Linked DNA regions of Homo sapiens: all the other regions are linked to region 5. Evidence: promoter capture Hi-C in 16 types of primary human blood cells and fetal thymus (Javierre and others, 2016). All regions are on one chromosome and are shown on one strand. The core of a region is centred on a gene start or on the middle of the fragment in contact, and the rest is flanking DNA. Distances in the headings are between cores, read along the strand shown. Region 1 overlaps LOC124902479 (a long non-coding RNA gene). Region 2 overlaps RPP30 (ribonuclease P/MRP subunit p30). Region 3 overlaps RPP30 (ribonuclease P/MRP subunit p30). Region 4 has its middle 11 kb from the start of ANKRD1. Region 5 holds the start of PPP1R3C (protein phosphatase 1 regulatory subunit 3C). Region 6 holds the start of LOC124902479 (a long non-coding RNA gene).

Evidence for each region. The method cuts DNA at HindIII sites, captures the fragments that hold promoters and counts their contacts. A CHiCAGO score of 5 or more calls a contact.
Region 1: a contact is called between a fragment that was not itself captured here and the fragment with the promoter of PPP1R3C in region 5, in 2 of 17 cell types (total CD4 T cells and naive CD4 T cells). The highest score is 6.0, in total CD4 T cells.
Region 2: a fragment that was not itself captured here is called in contact with the fragment with the promoter of PPP1R3C in region 5 in 3 of 17 cell types (fetal thymus, endothelial precursors and naive CD4 T cells); the score reaches 9.9 in fetal thymus.
Region 3: a contact is called between a fragment that was not itself captured here and the fragment with the promoter of PPP1R3C in region 5, in 3 of 17 cell types (fetal thymus, endothelial precursors and megakaryocytes). The highest score is 12.5, in fetal thymus.
Region 4: a fragment that was not itself captured here is called in contact with the fragment with the promoter of PPP1R3C in region 5 in 5 of 17 cell types (naive B cells, total CD8 T cells, total B cells and 2 more); the score reaches 7.1 in naive B cells.
Region 6: a fragment that was not itself captured here is called in contact with the fragment with the promoter of PPP1R3C in region 5 in 1 of 17 cell types (total CD8 T cells); the score reaches 5.0 in total CD8 T cells.

What each region holds. Positions count from the first base shown.
Region 1 is chr10:90,995,036-90,997,929 of GRCh38, reverse strand. LOC124902479 (a long non-coding RNA gene) reads left to right here. Exons shown (of 2, transcript XR_007062238.1): 2 at 102-451. Among named protein-coding and RNA genes, the nearest start is that of XLOC_008559, 49 kb to the right of the region's middle. The HindIII fragment of the contact is 4,314 bases long and covers 1-2,894 here.
Region 2 is chr10:90,891,961-90,894,976 of GRCh38, reverse strand. It overlaps RPP30 (ribonuclease P/MRP subunit p30), which reads right to left. Exons shown (of 11, transcript NM_006413.5): 7 at 86-202. Among named protein-coding and RNA genes, the nearest start is that of RPP30, 21 kb to the right of the region's middle. The HindIII fragment of the contact is 863 bases long and covers 1,155-2,017 here.
Region 3 is chr10:90,873,535-90,876,280 of GRCh38, reverse strand. RPP30 (ribonuclease P/MRP subunit p30) reads right to left here. Exons shown (of 11, transcript NM_006413.5): 2 at 1,357-1,412; 3 at 667-723; 4 at 183-257. Among named protein-coding and RNA genes, the nearest start is that of RPP30, 2.9 kb to the right of the region's middle. The HindIII fragment of the contact is 2,904 bases long and covers 1-2,746 here.
Region 4 is chr10:90,908,542-90,911,360 of GRCh38, reverse strand. It overlaps a transcript of RPP30 not described here. Among named protein-coding and RNA genes, the nearest start is that of ANKRD1, 11 kb to the left of the region's middle. The HindIII fragment of the contact is 966 bases long and covers 1,001-1,966 here.
Region 5 is chr10:91,631,407-91,634,429 of GRCh38, reverse strand. PPP1R3C (protein phosphatase 1 regulatory subunit 3C) reads left to right here and starts at 1,359. Exons shown (of 2, transcript NM_005398.7): 1 at 1,359-1,474. The coding sequence starts at 1,461. RefSeq lists enhancers at 727-1,226, 1,227-1,728 and a silencer at 1,253-1,392. The HindIII fragment of the contact is 3,050 bases long and covers 1-2,385 here.
Region 6 is chr10:91,021,061-91,024,025 of GRCh38, reverse strand. It overlaps LOC124902479 (a long non-coding RNA gene), which reads left to right and starts at 548. Exons shown (of 2, transcript XR_007062238.1): 1 at 548-703. The HindIII fragment of the contact is 3,179 bases long and covers 1-2,880 here.

The DNA of each region.
Region 1 (2,894 bases), core at 168-2,667, 640 kb after region 5:
GCAGCCTTATCTGGAGATGGAGTCTGTACGGATGTAATCAAGTTAAAATGAGGTCATCAGGACAGGCCCTAATTCAATGTGATTGGTGTCCTTCTAAACAGGAGAAATTTGGATACAGAGACAGATGCACACAGAGGGAAGATGATGGGAAGGGACACGGGGAGAAGATGGTCATCCCCATGCCAAGGAAGGAGGCCTGGAACAAATTCCCCTTCACAGCACTCAGAAGAAACCAGCCCTGCTGACACTTCGAGTTCAGACTTTTAGCTTCCAGAACTGTGAGACTATACGGTTTTGTTGTTTAAGACCCCCGGTTTGTAGTACTTTGTTACAGCAGTCCTAGCCAATGAATACAGGTATATTATGAGGACTTTAGTCTTTTACTTCTTTTTTCTTTACAAGTTTTTTAAATAGAAAAGTAGAAGTAAGAAAATAAAGCAGAAAAAAATGATGTTCAGTGTCCCTGTTGTGAAAACTCCTGCTGATATATACATATATATAGTATATATGATATCTGAAATATATATACACATGCATACATATACAACATACATATACATATATATGTATATAGTATTATACATGCTGAGTTACACCATTCAAAAAAAATTTTTTTTTTGAGACAAGGTCTCACTCTGTCACCCAGGCTGGAGTGCAGTGGCATGATCTCGGCCCACTGCAACCTCCACCTCCTGGGTTCAAATGATTCTCCTGCCTCGGCCTCCCGAGTAGCTGGGATTACAGGCACCTGCTACCATGCCTGGCTAATTTTTGTATTTTTAGTGGAGATGGGGTATTGCCATGTTGTCCAGGCTGGTCTTGAACTCCTGATCTCAAGTGATCCACCTGCCTCAGCCTCCCAAAGTGCTAGGATTACAGGTGAGAGCCATCACTCCTGGCCTCAAATATTTTTTAAAAGTGCAAAGAAAAAAGAGAGTGACTAAGAGCGAGCTTCCATGCCTTAACTTCTCTTCTCATAACTGTCAACCATTCTTAACTGTTAACCACTAAATCTCTGTACCCAAAAGTGTTTATACCAGCAACTCCATATCCATTTATCCATCTGTTCTTTTTTTTAAAAAAAAGTATACAAAAGGGATCCCATTTTACATACTCTTCTTTGCTTTGCTGTTTTCTTTAAATGATACGTTGGAACTCCATCCAGACCAGCACATACCGAGTGTCCTTATTTCTTCATGGCTGCACAGTATTCCACCATGGGCATGTGCAATGTTTCATGTAACAGGATCTACCCAAGAGCCTGTGTTTTCTGCTGGGCTCTGCTAGGGCAGGTTAGGAATGCATCTGAGCACCTTAGGGCTGGTAGGACATTCAGAACTCATCTGCCAGCCCTCTTGTTTTTCACATGAGGAAAACTGGTACACAGAATGGAAGCATTTTGCCTAAAGTGACACAGAAACTTAACAAAAGTAGTTCCTGCTGTTAGGGATGTCAAACATTTTCCATAATTATGTGGTTTTTTTTGGTCACCAAAACAATGTAAGGATGTCACAGGCCTCATGTTTGCATATATTTCTTAAAATGTTTTATTTCCATAGGTTTTTAAAGAACAGGTGGTGTTTGGTTACATGAGTAAGTCATTTAGTGGTGATTTGTGAGATTGTGGTGCATCCATCACCTAAGCAGTATACACTACACCCAATTTGTATTATTTTATCCCTCAACCCCCTCCCACCCTTTTCCCCAAGTCCCCAAAATCCATTGTATCATTCATATGCTTTTGCATCCTCATAGCTTAGCTCCCACTTACGAGTGAGAGCGTACAATGTTTGGTTTTCCATTCCTGGGTTACTTCATTTAGAAAAATAGTCTCCAGTTCCATCCAGGTCGCTGAGAATGCCATTAATTTGTTCCTTTTTATGGCTGAGTAGTATTCACCATAACTTCTTTAACCATTCGTTGCTTGATGGGCATTTGGGCTGGTTCCATATTTTTGCAGTTGCGAATTGTGCTGCTGTAGACGTGTGTGCAAATATCTTTTACAAATAATGACTTCTTTTCCTCTGGGTAGATACCCAGTAGCGAGATTGCTGATTCAAGTGGTAGATCTACTTTTAATTCTTTAAGGAATCTCCACACTGTTTTCCATATTGGTTGTACTAGTTTACATTCCCACCAGCAGTGTAGAAGTGTTCCCTTTTCCCTACATCCACGCCAACATCTTTTTTTTTTTAATAGCTATTCTTGCAGGAGAAAGGTGATATCACAATGTGGTTTTGATTTATATTTCCCTGATCATTAGTGATGTTGAGCATTTTTTCATATTTGCAAAAAAAAAACACAAAAAAATTTAGAAACAGAATTTTCTAATCTGTCTATAATGCTTCTAAATGTTTCAGAGTTTTAGTGGGTTGAACACATTTTTTAAATATGTAAAAATGCAACAAATTCCAAATTGTTTGTCACAAGAATTGATTGACATAAAGGGAAACAGAAATATAATAGCTGACTTTAAAGAAAAACGTTGGTACAGTTGGTAAATGGGATTTTAAAAAATAAGCATCATGACTTAGTAAGTGCAGCTATTGCTTTTCTTATTTGTATTCACACGCCTTTGTGAGGTAATTAAACTTTTTGTTATTGGCAATTATTGCCACTGAAACCAGCATCAAAATAAGCCAAACATAAACCCAGATCTTCCTATTGCTTTATGTTAAAGCAGTGTCAAATTAAATGTTAAATCAAGATATTTTAAAATCAATGAAGCATTAATATCTACATTTAACTCTTTAAAATATTATTAATTATAACTAATAACAATTTAGCAAAAGCAAATGCTTTTTATTTTGATTTTAAAACTTTTTCATATACGTAGTCATTTTTTTTATTTTACATATGTTGTATTATGTACATATTAGTACATTAATACATAG
Region 2 (3,016 bases), core at 337-2,836, 740 kb after region 5:
AAAAGGAGTCAGTTTGACAATTCCAGTGTACTACTAATAATAAACTGCCAGATGCGAAAAACATCCTAAAATTATAGAACCATACCTTTCCTTTGCAGATTTGCATCAAATTGAGGGCACTGGAAATTGTATACCTTCTCATTGTGGAGTCTTTGATAGCAGGGCTATAGACAAGTTCAAAAGCCAGGCCTCGGTCAATCGCCTTCACAGGAAATAAAGAGAACTGTCAGAGATAAGCATGCACTGGCCTACTTCATTTTCACTGATTCTCTCTTCACATCCCTCCTCACTCCCTACTACTGACCCCTTACATGTCAAGGTACAGCTTTATGAAAGACAGATCAACACTCAAATGGCACCACCCACAAGGAGAAGAAAATAAATCCGTGGCTCTACTTGATTAAGAGAGTTTAACTTGGCTGTGGGGAAGCTGACTTTACATAAACAGGAATTATGAAGAGGCTAAGAAGAACAAAGTCCCAATGGCGTGAGAGAGGGGCTACTACTCCATGAACTATCAAAAGGAAAACAGAAATGTACTCCCTACATTTACAGTAAACTGTATACAAACATAGTAAACCAAGTAATCTGACCTATGAATGCACAAAGAGACAAAGAAATGAAGAGCTGAAAAAAGCCCAAAGAACCAAGGGCAGGAAGGTCTTTCAGGTAAGTAATTTATTCTCTATATGTTGAAGAGAGAATAACAGCCATAGTTAATTGAGTGCTGACTATATGCTAAGAGAGTCTTATATATAATATTTAATCCTTACTACAATACCTTTATAAAGCATTACTGCAAAGCCTGCAAATTGCCCAGATATCTGTCCTCTCCTTTTTCTTTAGTAATAAAGCCCCTGATTTTTCACTGGGCTTATAGCCGCACAGCAAAAAAGATGGAAGTGCCCTTGAAGATTTTGCCCAGCTCACCATACAAGCTTGGCTTTTTTCATGAGAAACAGAAACTTCTTTATTTAATGTACTCTTACTACAGAGGGATCCACAGGTAAGTAGATGAGTGGAAATGATATTGAAATTAACCACCATACTGTTCAGCTTTCCTAATGAGCACCTAAATGTCTGCATCCATTCACAAAAGATGTTTTAAGCCCACTACGTGCAAAAGCTGAGATGGTTTCTCCCTTCTAAAAGCTTACATTTTAGTGGGGGAGATGATCAATAACCACACAAAAATACAAAACTTCAACTGTGTTAAGTGCTATCAAGGAGAAGTTTAGGGTTGAGGAAGAAATTAAGCAGTTAAATAGTAGAGGAAGGTGCACTTTCAGAGGGAGGTCAGAGCATGCAAAAGTCTTCAAGGTTGCAGCATGGCAGCACGTAGGGAAGGTCAAATGCTGGAGAAAAATAATGAGGAAGACAGGCTAAAGAGGATGGGAAGGGCCAACTGTGCAGGCCTTTAGAGCTGGTGATGAGGATTATTCCTAATGGAGAAAACATCTGAAGGATTTTCAGCATAGAGATGATAATCAGACTCTCAATTGCAAAAGTCACTTGAGTGGCAGTACTCTTTCAAAAGAATAAAGAAAGAATGGTAGGCATGTTCTAGGCAGTATGGTCCAAGTCTCTGCTTGGCAAATGAGTTTCGATTGCCCAGAGTATAAGTTGGGACTGGCCCAGCTGTGACTACTGGGGTTTACTCCTGAGCATTTACGGGGAATGGAGAAACTTGTCTTTTTCTAGAACTGGCAGTCCATCTTGATTTAATTCAGTTGTACTTGAAGGCCCCTTCTGCTTTTCCCTCCCGAACACAGATTTCCTTAATTCTTCCTCCGGCTTCAAGGCTCCCAGATTTTATTTTAGATTTTCCTATATGTCTGATTCTAGTTTGGTTAGAATTTAAATGCTATTTTCCACACTGCAACCTTTCCCTCTCTCATTTTTTGACTTTTCCCCATCTCTAATTCTTTCACCTGTGTTGATTATTTCTGGGAATGACATTTGTTAAGATAGTATTTCTGTCCTAGTTGAACGTGTATCTCATTGGCTCTGCCAAGCTTGCACACTTCTTGAGAGCTAGACTGCCTTTTACATAAAAGGTGTATAATATATTTATATTTTGAGTGAATAAATAGCAGCTTATGGAGAAGATGTCCTGTGATAACGTTGTTCATTATAGATGATCCATCATCAAAGGAACCTCGGTGCACCTGGCTAACCAAAAACCACAGATAAGTAAAAACATCCCTTTTAGCCATATTATCAGCCATCTCCTTGGCTATATATTTTACCAAAACTACTAATTAGCTGAAGAGGCTGACCTGTATTTCTTTTCCTTATCCTTCTAGTTGTGGAACGATAATACAAGGCAACAGGATGATGAAGAGGGGAAATAAATGAAAGAGGTGAATGATATATAGAGTTGGATGCTTAGATCTCGAAATATTCCTAATTGACTGAATCTAAATTTCTAGACCCTTGTGGGTACCAAATCAAAATAAAAACAACTTTTGCGGGGGGAGGGGAGAAAAAAAGGATATTATCAGCATAATTATTTTTTAAGGAAAAAGTTCTGATTTTCATCTTGGTACATTAATCAAGTTCACTTTAAAACTGCTATAGGAATTCTTGAAAAAGAAAAATTAAAAATAATGTGCTATTGAAGGTTGTGAATATTTCTTTCATAGCATCTTATTTTAAATTTTTAGATGGATAAAATACAGACTCATTACCTGGGATCTTGCTGTAAGACCATTTTGATGCAAATTGCCTAAAGCTCATCAAATGATTGTTCCTAACAGCCTCTTCCTAACAGTGCCTGCCTGATTAGCTTTTGTTCTCATGTCTGACCAAAGGTTCTGGCATGGGTGGATGATCACATTTCTTTACTAATGAAAAATAATGGTCATAAAGATGCTACTAAGGACAGGTGTGTGACAGTTGAATCAAGATACATTGGTACTAAAATTCCAAGTATTAAGCAAAGCCTTAGAGAAAGACGAGAAGAAAGTAAGGAGCTGATTACTGGGACAATATACTGATTCCCTGTTAATTTCAT
Region 3 (2,746 bases), core at 70-2,569, 760 kb after region 5:
TGAGTAAGTGGAACAGACATATTACACTGTGTGAATTCTGAGGACAAGGAGAGCAAGCAGGTGTCATGGTTTGGCGGGGGCGAGGGAAAATGTAAAATGGGGAAGACAAAATGCAACATTGTTCAACATTAATCAATACAACTCACAAAGCCAAAAGGAGAGAAGAAAAATAATTAACTTACCAAAACATTGCAGTGAGATGGATCCGAGACAATAATTGTTAATCTAGTTAAAATTTTAATTGGTCTTGATTTTCCCTATTTAAAAAAGACATGATGTCAAAAAAGCACAAAAGACAATAATTGATTTTCCTTTTTACCAGTGGAAAGTATTCATTAAAAGGTACTGGCTATAAGGGATAGTGAAGATCAATAAAACCCAGTCCTTGTTCTCTAGGAATTTACAATACAGCCACAGAAAGAGATGTATATATCTTAAACTACATAACGAGATAATTTAAAAATTGTAGGACTTCAGGAAAGAAGATCATCAAAGCAATGCTGAATTGATAGTAAAAGAATGTTTCCTGAAGAGCTGAGCCTTGAGGAAAACGTTAAGACTGGTACTCAGAGTAAGGTGCAGCTCAAGCTAGAGAATAGCACAATAATTAGGTACCTTTTAACTGAATAAATAGATATTATGCTTCGTAAACAACAAAACACCTACCTGTACAATTGGCAAAGTTGTGAAGAGTTCAGAAACAGCTACTGGTTTTTCAATTTCCTACAACAAACGATAAATAGTTACTGCAGATTGTATCCATTAATAGCACAAGGCATAATGGAAAAATTACGAGGTGTTCTCAGAAAAAATATGCATTTTTTTTAAAAAGAAAGCAAGGTGATTTCTGGTATTCAAAAAAACTTTTAAAAATTATTTTTAAAAAGAAAGCTAAATAGAGAAGCAACTGTAAACATCAGTGAATAGGAAGAATGAAAACTAATTTTTAGACTGAAATAATCTACAGGATACAGTTGTTGGCCTAAAGAGAAATATACATACTTATTAGTAATGTTTAAGAGAGAAAGTAGTTAATAAGCCCATGACAATAGAATAAAAAGGACTAAATATTTTGATTACAGTCCAGCCAATAACAATGCACTTTTTGAACAGTGAAAAGTAACTTAATTTCAAATCACCTTTAAGAATCCTGAACACTATGTCATATTACCTCACAAAAATCATCATTGTATAAATATGCATCAGCTCGACTGTTTCTATATAAAATAGAAAAGTAGTAGTGCACAAAGGGGTGCATTTAAGAAATATTCTAATCTGTAGCTTCCAAATTACCAATACAAACAGAATTACAAATACTTATTTATGAACTTATTAACTTTAGAAATATTATTTTACCTGTTTCTTTTCCTTAAAGTCAACGATATGATTGATAGCAACAACTGAATAGCCAACTGAAAAAGAAAAATTGAACACTTTTGTTAAATATAACAACCTCTCCTTCCTGTAACACAGGTCCATCCTGAGTCTAGATGTCAAGAGTAGGAGGACATTTGAGGAGTGGTTATGAATGTGAACTCTAGTGTCAGTCTGCCTGATTTAAAGTCTATGCACTACCACTTACAAGTTACTTAACATGAAGTTTCAGGTTCCTCATCTGTCAAATGGTGAAAATAACAACACTTTCTTCATACACTGTCATGAAATTTAAATGAAATAATACACATGAGGTGTTTGAGAACAGTGCCTGGCACACAGGTCTTTGTTTAACCATTATGAATTATTATTAAAATGATACTAAAGACTCTTAACTTTGTGCTTCTCCTTTTCAAATGTCATTCTCTTTCATGACCCTATATTCATTTTTATCCCATCAAGTTCCTACTTTATCACTGTCACTTTTATTCCCGTTCATTTCTTTTGCTTTTTATCCTTCTACTTCCTTCAGAGACTCCTTTCCTAAGGAGAAATGGAGTGATAACTCCCTCACACCACTGCCCGCTTCCCATTTTAAGCTGCACACCATCGACAGACTGGGAGCTCCTTGAGGTCAAGGGCTTGCTTTATTATCCTCATCAGTTAGCACTGTTCTGGACATTTGGGCTACCAAAAAAAAATCTAAATCATGACTCCCATCTTTAATTTTTAAAAATACCAATGGGGATGAAAGGATATTAACATTAAAATACATATCAATGCCAAACTCTCAACAGTTTGTCCAACTTCCTTCTTCCCTTCCTCCCTCAAATATTTACTGAGCATCCATTACTTGACAAGCCCTAAACTGGTGTTGAGCATACAGGATAAATAATATAATCCTTCTCCACAAGAAATTTACAGCCTAGTCTGTTGGAGAACGAAGGCAAATAAGGCAATTAAGCAAGTCATTGTATATAAATACATGTTTTTTATAAGTAAGGATTCTATGGAAGTACATAGCACAGTGAAACCTGGTGTAGGGGTCACAAAAGGCTCCCTGAAGAAAGTTACCCTTAAAAACAAAAAAAAAATCACAAGTATGCCTGTACCTTGGGCTTCACCTTGCACCCAGTTAGTCAAATCAACCAGCCACACCTCCTCCCTATTCTTCTTTACCACACTCCCAAATCTGCTCTAAACTTCCTTGTTATACCCATTTAGGATATCCTTTTGGCTACTAAACAATGTCCCTACCGTTCTACAGAAATGTCAACTAGGATCTGTTTCTCCACAAAACTTTTTCCTAGACTACTCCTCATCTGGCAGCTTAGGAGTACTTACTTCCCCAATCAGGCTTTAGGGTATTTTA
Region 4 (2,819 bases), core at 234-2,733, 720 kb after region 5:
CCATGCCCCTGCCAAGGACATGATCTCATTCTTTTTATGGCTGCGTTGTATTCCATGGTGTATATCTACCATATTTTCTTTATCCAGTCTATTATTGATGGGCATTTGGGTTGGTTCCATGTCTTTGCAATTGTGAATAGTGCTGCAATGAACATATGCATGCATGTATCTTTGTAGTAGAATGATTTATATTCCTTTGGGTACATACCCAATAATGGGATTGCTAGGTCAAATGGTATTTCTGGTTCTAGATCTTTGAGGAATCACCACACCATTTTCCACAATGGATGAACTAATTTACATTCCCACCAACAGTGTAAAAGTGTTCCTATTTTTCTGCAACCTTGCCAGCATCTGTTATTTCTTGACTTTTTAAGTAACTGCCATTCAGACTCCATCCATCTGACAAAGCTCTAACATCCAGAATCTACAAGGAACTTAAATTTACAAGAAAAAACAACCCCATCAAAAAAGTGGGCAAAGCACACGAACAGACACTTCTCAAAAGAAGATATTCATGTGGCCAACAAACATCTGGAAAAGAAAGCTCAATATCACTGATCATTAGAAAAATGCAAATTAACTGGAGATTTAACAATTCTTGTGGACAGGGACTGGCAATGTCAAAGACTTCCCAGGAGAGAACACACAGGTCCATGATTTTTGACCTCCAGACCACCATAATAAAACTAATATCACAATAAAGTGAGTCACAATTTTTTTTGGTTTTCTAGTGCATACAAAAGTTATGTTTACATTATCCTGTGGTTTAATAATTGTGCTATAGCACGATGTCTAAAAAACACTGTACCTACCTTAACTTAAAAATACTTTATTGCTAAAAAAAATGCTAATGATCATCTGAGCCTTCAGTGAGTCATAATCGTTTTAATGGCGGAGGGTCTTCCCTCCATGTGGATGGCTGCTGACTGATGAGGGTGGTAGTTGATGAAGATTGGGATGGCTGTGTCAATTTATTGAAAGAAGACAACAATAAGCTTACCACATCAATTAACTCTTTCATAAAAGATTTATCTGTAGCATCTGATGCTATTTGATAGCATGTTACTATCAATAGAACATCTTTCAAAATTGGAGTACATCCTCGCAAACCCTGTTACTGCTTTATTAACTAAGTTGATGTAATATTCAAAATCCTTTTTTTGTCATTTCAACAATGTTTACAGCATCTTCACTAGGAGTAGATTCCATCTCAAGAAACCACTTCCTTTGCTCATCCATAGGAAGCAACTTCTCAGCTGTTCAAGTTTTATGACAAGATTGCAACAATTCAGTCACATGTTCAGGCTCCACTTTTAGTTTTCTTGCTATTTCCACCACATCAACAGTTACTTACTCCACCGAAGTCTTGAACCCCTCCAAGTCATTCACACAGGTTGGAATTAACTTCTTTCAAATTCCAGTTAATGATATTTTTACCTCCTCCAATGACCCACGAATGTTCTTAATGGCATCTAGCATGGTGAATCCTTTCCAGAAGGTTTTGAATTTATTTTGCCCAGATCCATCAAAGGAATCGTTATCTACGGCATATAGCCTTATGAAATGTGTTTCTTAATAAGACTTGATTCAAAATGACTCCTTGATCCATGGGCTACAGAATGGATGTTGTGTAAGCAGGTATGAGAATAACATTCATCTCCTTGTACATCCTCATCAGATGCACGTCTCCATCAGTCTTGGGTGACCAGGTGCATTTTCAATTAGCAGTAATGTTGTGAAAGGAATATTTTTTTTTCCTGAACAGTAGGTTTCAATGATGGGCTTAAAATATTCAATAAACTATGATGTAAAAAGATGTGCTATCATCAAGGATTTGTGGTACAATTTATAGAGCACAGGCAAAGTAGATTTAGCATAATTCTTAACAACCCTAGGATTTTCAGAATGGTCAATGAGCATTGGTTTCAACTTAAAATCACCAGCTAACAAGGGAGTCAAAGCTTTGAAGCTTTGAAGCCAGGCATTGACTTCTCCTCTCTAGCTATCAAAGTCCTACATGGCATCTTCCAATAGAAGGCTGTTTCATCTACATTGAAAATCTGTTGCTCAGTGTAGCCATGTTAATCAGTTATCTTAGCTAGATCTTCTGGATAACTCGCTGCAGCTTCTTTCTTCTATCAGCACTTGTGCTTCACCTTGCACTTTTATGTTACAGAGATGGCTTCTTTCCTCAAATCTTATGAACCAACTTCCGCTGCAGTTCTCCAACTGTTTTCAGCAGCTTCCTCACTTCTCAGCATTCATAGCATTGAAGAGTTAGGGCCTCTGGATTAGGCTTTGGATTAAGGCATTATTGTAACTGGTTTGGTGTTCTATCCAGACCACAAAAACTTTCTCCATTCAGCAATAGAGCTGTTTTGCTTTATCATTTGTGTGTTCACTGGAGAAGCACCTTTAATTTCCTTCAAGAACTTTTCCTTTGCATTCACAACTTGAGTGAGAGGCATAGTTTTCAGCCTATCTTGGCTTTCTACATGCCTTTCTCAATAAGCTTAATCATTCCTAGCTTTTGATTGAGAGAGATGTGTGGTTCTTCCTTTCACTTGAACACTTAGAGGCCATTGTAGGGTTATTAATTGGCCTAATTTCAATATTGTTTTGTTTCAAGGAATGGGGAGGCCTGAAGAGAGGGAAGGAAATGGGGAAAGCTGGTCGATGGAGGAGTCAGAACACACACAACATTCATGGATTAAGTTCACTGTCCGATATGAGTGCAATTTGTGGCTACCTAAAACAGTTATAATAGTAAAATCAAAGAACACTAACCAACAAAACACATATAATAATAATGAAAA
Region 5 (3,023 bases), core at 110-2,609:
ACAGGCACTGGGCATCGTGCTGAGTCTGTTCATTGGCACCATCTTACTTCATCTTCAGAACGTTACTATCTCTGTTTTACACATGAGGAAACTGAGGTTAGAACTTGCCTAGATTCGTGTAGCTAGTAAGTGTCAATCCAAAGACCTTCCAGCTAGTTTTGGTTGAGCTAAAGGGGCTAGAAGACCTGCCATTAGTTAGATATTTCATTTCAAAAATAAAACCCAGGCATGAAGTCCCTTTCCCAGTGATATTCAGTGTGATTTTTTTCTTCACTCTAATAATTTTAACAATTCCACTGTTTGACAGTTGTTTAAAAGACATAGGAATTTTTGTATATTTTAATTGACTAATGGATAGCTCAATTAGGGGAGCAAAACTAGGATGTGGGTTTTATAAAAATAATTTAGACTTGACTTAGACATTTAATTTTACAGTTGTAAATGATGGTCTAAAAATTCTTCAAACTAATCAAAATAATGAAACTTCAGCGAAAGTGAGTGGCTCAGAAGGCCCATGAAACATACGGCGTGATTTTTTAAATTTTATTTTAACATTTTGATTTCCACACCACTGCCAAAGGACGTCAGAATTGAGTAAGGGGTTTGGGTTGACTGCTGCCTCTTGACCGGCTGTATGTGTGAAAAGGGTCATTTCACTTCCGGCTTTAGTGTTCCCCGCAGGGGAGAAAATTGAAGAATAGACAGAAATACGAAGTGTCTTTTAATTAAATGCCACCTTGGTGTTTTATGGGGCTCGTATGCTTTCCTAACAACATTTGTTAGATAAGTTGGTAATTCCCGGCAGCTGTCTACTGTGTGGTGCATCTGTGAACTCATACTAATCGAAAAGCATGCAGCCAGTTTGGGATCGCGCAGGCTAAGGTGAGGGAGAAATGCGGATACACCGGGTAATGAACGATATAAACATTTCAAATGCGATACACATTCGGTTTGAGCCACATCTTCTGTGTGCAGATTCACCCGCAGTGACCCACAAAGCTATTCCCAAGTAACAGCCGCCCCAAGCCTGAGGCACTGGCGCCCCGCCTGGGCGAGGCTGGCTGCGCTCTCTCTTGGCCGGCGCCCGCTGCATGCGGTACGTGCCTGCCCGGCCCCTAGCCCAGGGTTCCCGTTACGCGGCTGGTTCCAGCTGGCCGCGGAGTCCCAGAACCTCCCCGCGATGCCCAGATAGCTCTCTGCACGTCTCGCCCCGGGGCGATCACGTTGCCGGGGCGAGGGCTGGCGCCCCAGCTGGGCGCTGGTTGGTCGCGCCCTGGGGCTCGAGGCCCGGCGATTGGTCCCAGGGATCGGGTCACGTGCTTGGGAGCAGATAAGCGGCCTCTAGGCGCCGGGCCCTCAGTCTCTCCCAGCGACCGCCGCGGGGGCAAGGCCTGGAGCTGTGGTTCGAATTTGTGCAGGCAGCGGGTGCTGGCTTTTAGGGTCCGCCGCCTCTCTGCCTAATGAGCTGCACCAGGTAGGTTCGCTGCAACTCTGCGCGCTAGGAACACAGGGGAACGCGCAGCTGTGGGGAAGTTGGGGGGCGTTTCAGTTCTATCATCTCTGGAAATGGACACCCCAGGGGGAGGACAAGTGGACTGACTGCGTAGTTGAATCTGGCAACCGAGAGGCCTTGGAGGTGTAGAAATTTGGCTCTATTTCTTAAGCAGAGCCTATTTTAGTAATCAGCATCTTAAAGCAGAAATTATCTTAACGTGAATCAGCTTGAGTTAGGATTTTCTCATGGATGCGGCTGTTCTTTTGGTCCTGCACAAATGTCCCAAAGACTCGGGCAGCTGAAGTGGTGAGAACAGCACTCTGACATTGCTGGTTAGGTGGTTTAGCTTGGAGGAAAAAAATTACAGGACGACGTTTGCATTCATTCGTCCTTCTTATCACAGTTTGCCATAGCAAAATCTCAAGAGTTTGAGCAAACGATTACTTTTAACTCTTGTCCAGGACTTAAAGTTCCAAGGAAATCACCCAAACTAAAACTGTCTTTCTATAAATGCAAAAAGTAAAAAAAAAAAAACAAAAAAACCAAAAAAAACCTCCCATAAAACTACTTTAAATAGCTTCTCCAGACATAGCTTAGCAGAAGACTTCTCTAAAAATCCTGCCTATTAACTATTATTAGACCCACAAATATAGCTTTAGCTTTCATTTGTTTGTTCTAAGTTTGCAGATCTCCCAGAAAAACCCCAGAGCTAACACAGTAAATTCTGCGAGTGTTATTACACACTTTTGTGATAATGACCACTTGCATACATGTTTAGAGCTGCTGTGAGGAGAGTTACTAAAGCCAGACTGAGAAATGTCGTGTACAGTATACACACACCTCTTACTTGTAAGGCTAAGATAGGGAAAAAAATCTTAATACCATAAGCTTGGAAATATATGATGAGGGCTAAAGGTCAGAGAAAAGTCTTCTTTATAGATGCTTCTTGGTTTAATATTGCTGAGCATAGTCATGTTTAAAACTTTAAATGGTTTTATTGTCTTTCTACTTATAAATGTCTATTAGAAAATGCCAAAAAAGAACAAAAACGAAAATAGATAATCTATAATCCTATCACCCAGAAATAATAATTATTAAATTATTAGGAAAGGTGTATTTCCTATAGAGTTTTTCAATATTTATAAGTTTGTATATATAAAATGTATATTTTAAAACACTCCAACTTTCAGGTAATCAGTTTTTCCACTTAAATGTGGACTTGTCATGGGCATCTCTTTAGGTGAATTATCAATTATATAGTTTTTAAGTGCATATGAATTGTTGGCTTGTATTTCAGTGGTTATTTGTGAAAAATAAGAGCATGATAATCAAAGTGCAAAGATGATTCTTTGACTTCTTCTCTAGCCTTCTCACTCTCAAAACTGTTGCATGTTATTTTTTTTTTTTCAAGTGAATTACCTTACCAGAGAAGTGTCAATCAATTTAGCAGCAAAATAAGCCAACGTAGCCAGAGGGAGCAGAGGGTCTGGAACTGTGGCTCCTGAACCTGTCTGGTCATTAGAATCAC
Region 6 (2,965 bases), core at 42-2,541, 610 kb after region 5:
CAGAGATGAGTTCTTCAACCCAGGCAATATTATCATTCATGCCTGGTTAATTAAGGAAGAAACAAATGCCTTAGGAAACTCATCCTGATATTAGAGGGAGGGAGAAGGACCTATTTTAGGTCTTGGGATATTTCATTTCCCCAAAGCCCTCCCTGTGAGTCACAGGACAGAAATTGGAGGCAGAGAAAGCAGAATAGCATAGTCGTCCAGACTAAAAAATAAGTTTTGGCTGAAAGACTGGATAATGGCATTTATGTATTCCTTGCTTGTGAGGTTCTGCAGTGCTTTCTGTTATGTATGCATGGGATGCAGCAGGCAATGCCAGCGTTTTTGTTCCTCTGAATTCCTGTCGTTGGACACTGCCAGGATTTAGGGTAGGGTCAGCCCTGGGCCATTTTAGCCCCAATAAAGGTCTGTTTTATTAAAGGCCTGCTTGTCCCTTGCCTGTTTACTGCTGCCTAATACAACACGTTCTTTATCTCTTTTTGGCTCTGCCCCAAAGAAAGCAGGGAGGCTTGTTGCTGCTTGGATTCCAGTTTCTGTCTCCAGTCTGGTCTTGTGGGGTTTAGGGGCTGGAAATGGGGAAGAGCTAGAGCACAGCATTTAGGATTGAGTTTTATACTATTCGGTACTCCAATTATGAAAACAACGATGATGATGCTTCTGACCTGCCCTGTTGGGCTGTTTCTTCCCCATCCTTTTGGTGAGTAGCTGTGCTGTGTCATTCTCATGCTCCCCTGTCCTTCTGGTGATGACGAGGCCCATGTTGGAACCTACAGAAGTGAGAAGTGAAGACTGTGACCCTGGAGGGTGTTGCACTGGGAAAACTAGCTGGTATATTGGGAATGTGAGCTATGAGTTTATCTGAATTTTAACCATGTTCTCACTAACTTATCTGGTCCTGAGGGTCACCAAGCTAACAGGCTGGGTCAACCATCAGCAGAGCCAGCTTCCTGAGCATGTGATCTACGAAGTCACACAGGCTCTGCACTTAAAAATAAAAAGCCCTCCCCCTGGTTTAAGTTCTGCTACCATCATCTGGAAATTTCTTAAGACCTTTTAAACAAAGGGTCCACATTTTCTTTTTGCACTGGCCCTTGCAAACCATGTAGCCAGTCCTGACTGTAAGATCAGATCTTCAAACAGTCCTAATACAGTCGATTGTGAAGATAGTTTAGCTTTTAGGCTTCCCCAGCAGTATTACAATTTCCAGAGGATTAAAGGAAGCACCTGAGGCAGTGAGAAGGAACACCTGCTGAATCCTGAGATCTATCTACAGTACAGGAGCCAGGCTCATTGATTCTGTCGAAAGGCAAAGTGTGATGCAGCCTTGAACATGCCCATCCCAGCAGTGCTAGGGTGCTCAGAGAAGAGGGTGATTGGCAGTGGCAGATGCAGCTGTGCGGTCAAGGAGGAGAAGCATAAAGAGGCTTTTTAATATGCCCTCAAAGAAGTAATTGGAGACCTGGAGAAACTGTAGAAGAGAAGAGTACAAGCTGGCTGGAATCCAGAGGAGAATTCCACAAGTGGAATTGGAGATAGCAAGAAAGAGACCATGTTAGAGGAATTTAGAGTGGGTGAGAGTTGGTGAGGGCTGAATATTTGTGGATGGGTAGCCTGTACCTGTCTGAAGGTCACTGGAAGGCAGTGAGGGCAGAGGGAAAAAGTGATGAAGGAGTAGGGAAGAAGAACATAGTCTGGAAAACTGACGCTGCAAAGGAGAAGTTAGAGAGGGAGTAGATATTACAAAGGATCCAGCATGTATCTGAGAGTCTCCATATCCTCACCTCTCAATTGGTAAGACTCTGAGCAGCAAAGGAGTGCGACTGAAGGAAGGCTGCTTCTGCAAATCTAGTCTGGAAACATCTGCAGCAAAATCACATATGGTGCTTATTACAAATGTATTTTCTAGATCCCATCCTGGACCTTCACTATCAGGTCCCTTGAGGACTTGGAGTTGGGAGGGCAAGAATCAGGCTTTTAAACAAGAGTTTCAAATAAATCCTGATGAAATTCAACCTTTAAAAGAAAGACGACGGAGGAATACAGCTAAGGCAGATTTTGGAGGCCTGACCATATGGCACAGTGATGCTGAGGCTGAGTGAAGAAGGAAGAGGTGTAAGCACAGGTAGCCCAGGCCTGCTAGTATGGAGGCCAGCCTAGCCTGAGATAACAGCAATGTCCCTCTGTCACAGAGGGAGGTTCCTGCCTGCAAAGTCCCCAAAGGGACTTCCTGCCAACCACATTCCTACCACCCCTTACCTTGCTGGAAGTGACTGTTTCCTGCAATCAGCAAGTGGGATAAAGAATTTCCAGTAAAGACTATGCTTCTGAAAGTTGAAGTCTGGTCTATCTTGCTTTTGTAAGATTATGCTTGCTTCTTAGATTCAGCCTCTTACACTGTTTCCCTAGCTGCCAGGTTCCTGTTCTCTTTCAAATCCTTGATTAATCCCTGATTGATGTTTCACTAATCAACTGATGATTTCTTCCAGACAGACTAGTTTTGCTCCTCTGCTGTCTGATCCTTAGAGAACTTCTCAAAGTATCAGTCATGTCATAATTTCTGAATGTTTTCAACAGCTCTCCTTCTCAAACTTGAACATGCAGACAAATCACCTGGGAAGGCACATTCTGGTTTAGTGGATGTGGGATAGGATCTGAGATTCTGCTTTTCTCATTCTAGCAAGCTCCTGGGTGATGCTCACGCTGCTGGTCCATGGACCACACTCTGAGTAGCAAGGTTTTCAAAATTTTTCCACTTGTATTAAGGGTTTGAAAGCAACATCCATTGCTTATGACAGTTGTGTTTTAAATGCAAATGTTATTTCTTTTTATTCTAGGTGGATGAATTGAGTGAATTAACTCTCTAAAACTAAAGCTTTGGAATTATGGCAATTATTTTACAATAGTAATACTTGAGGATGGAGAAGGTGGTCATTATTAAACATACATCCTAGGATTTTCT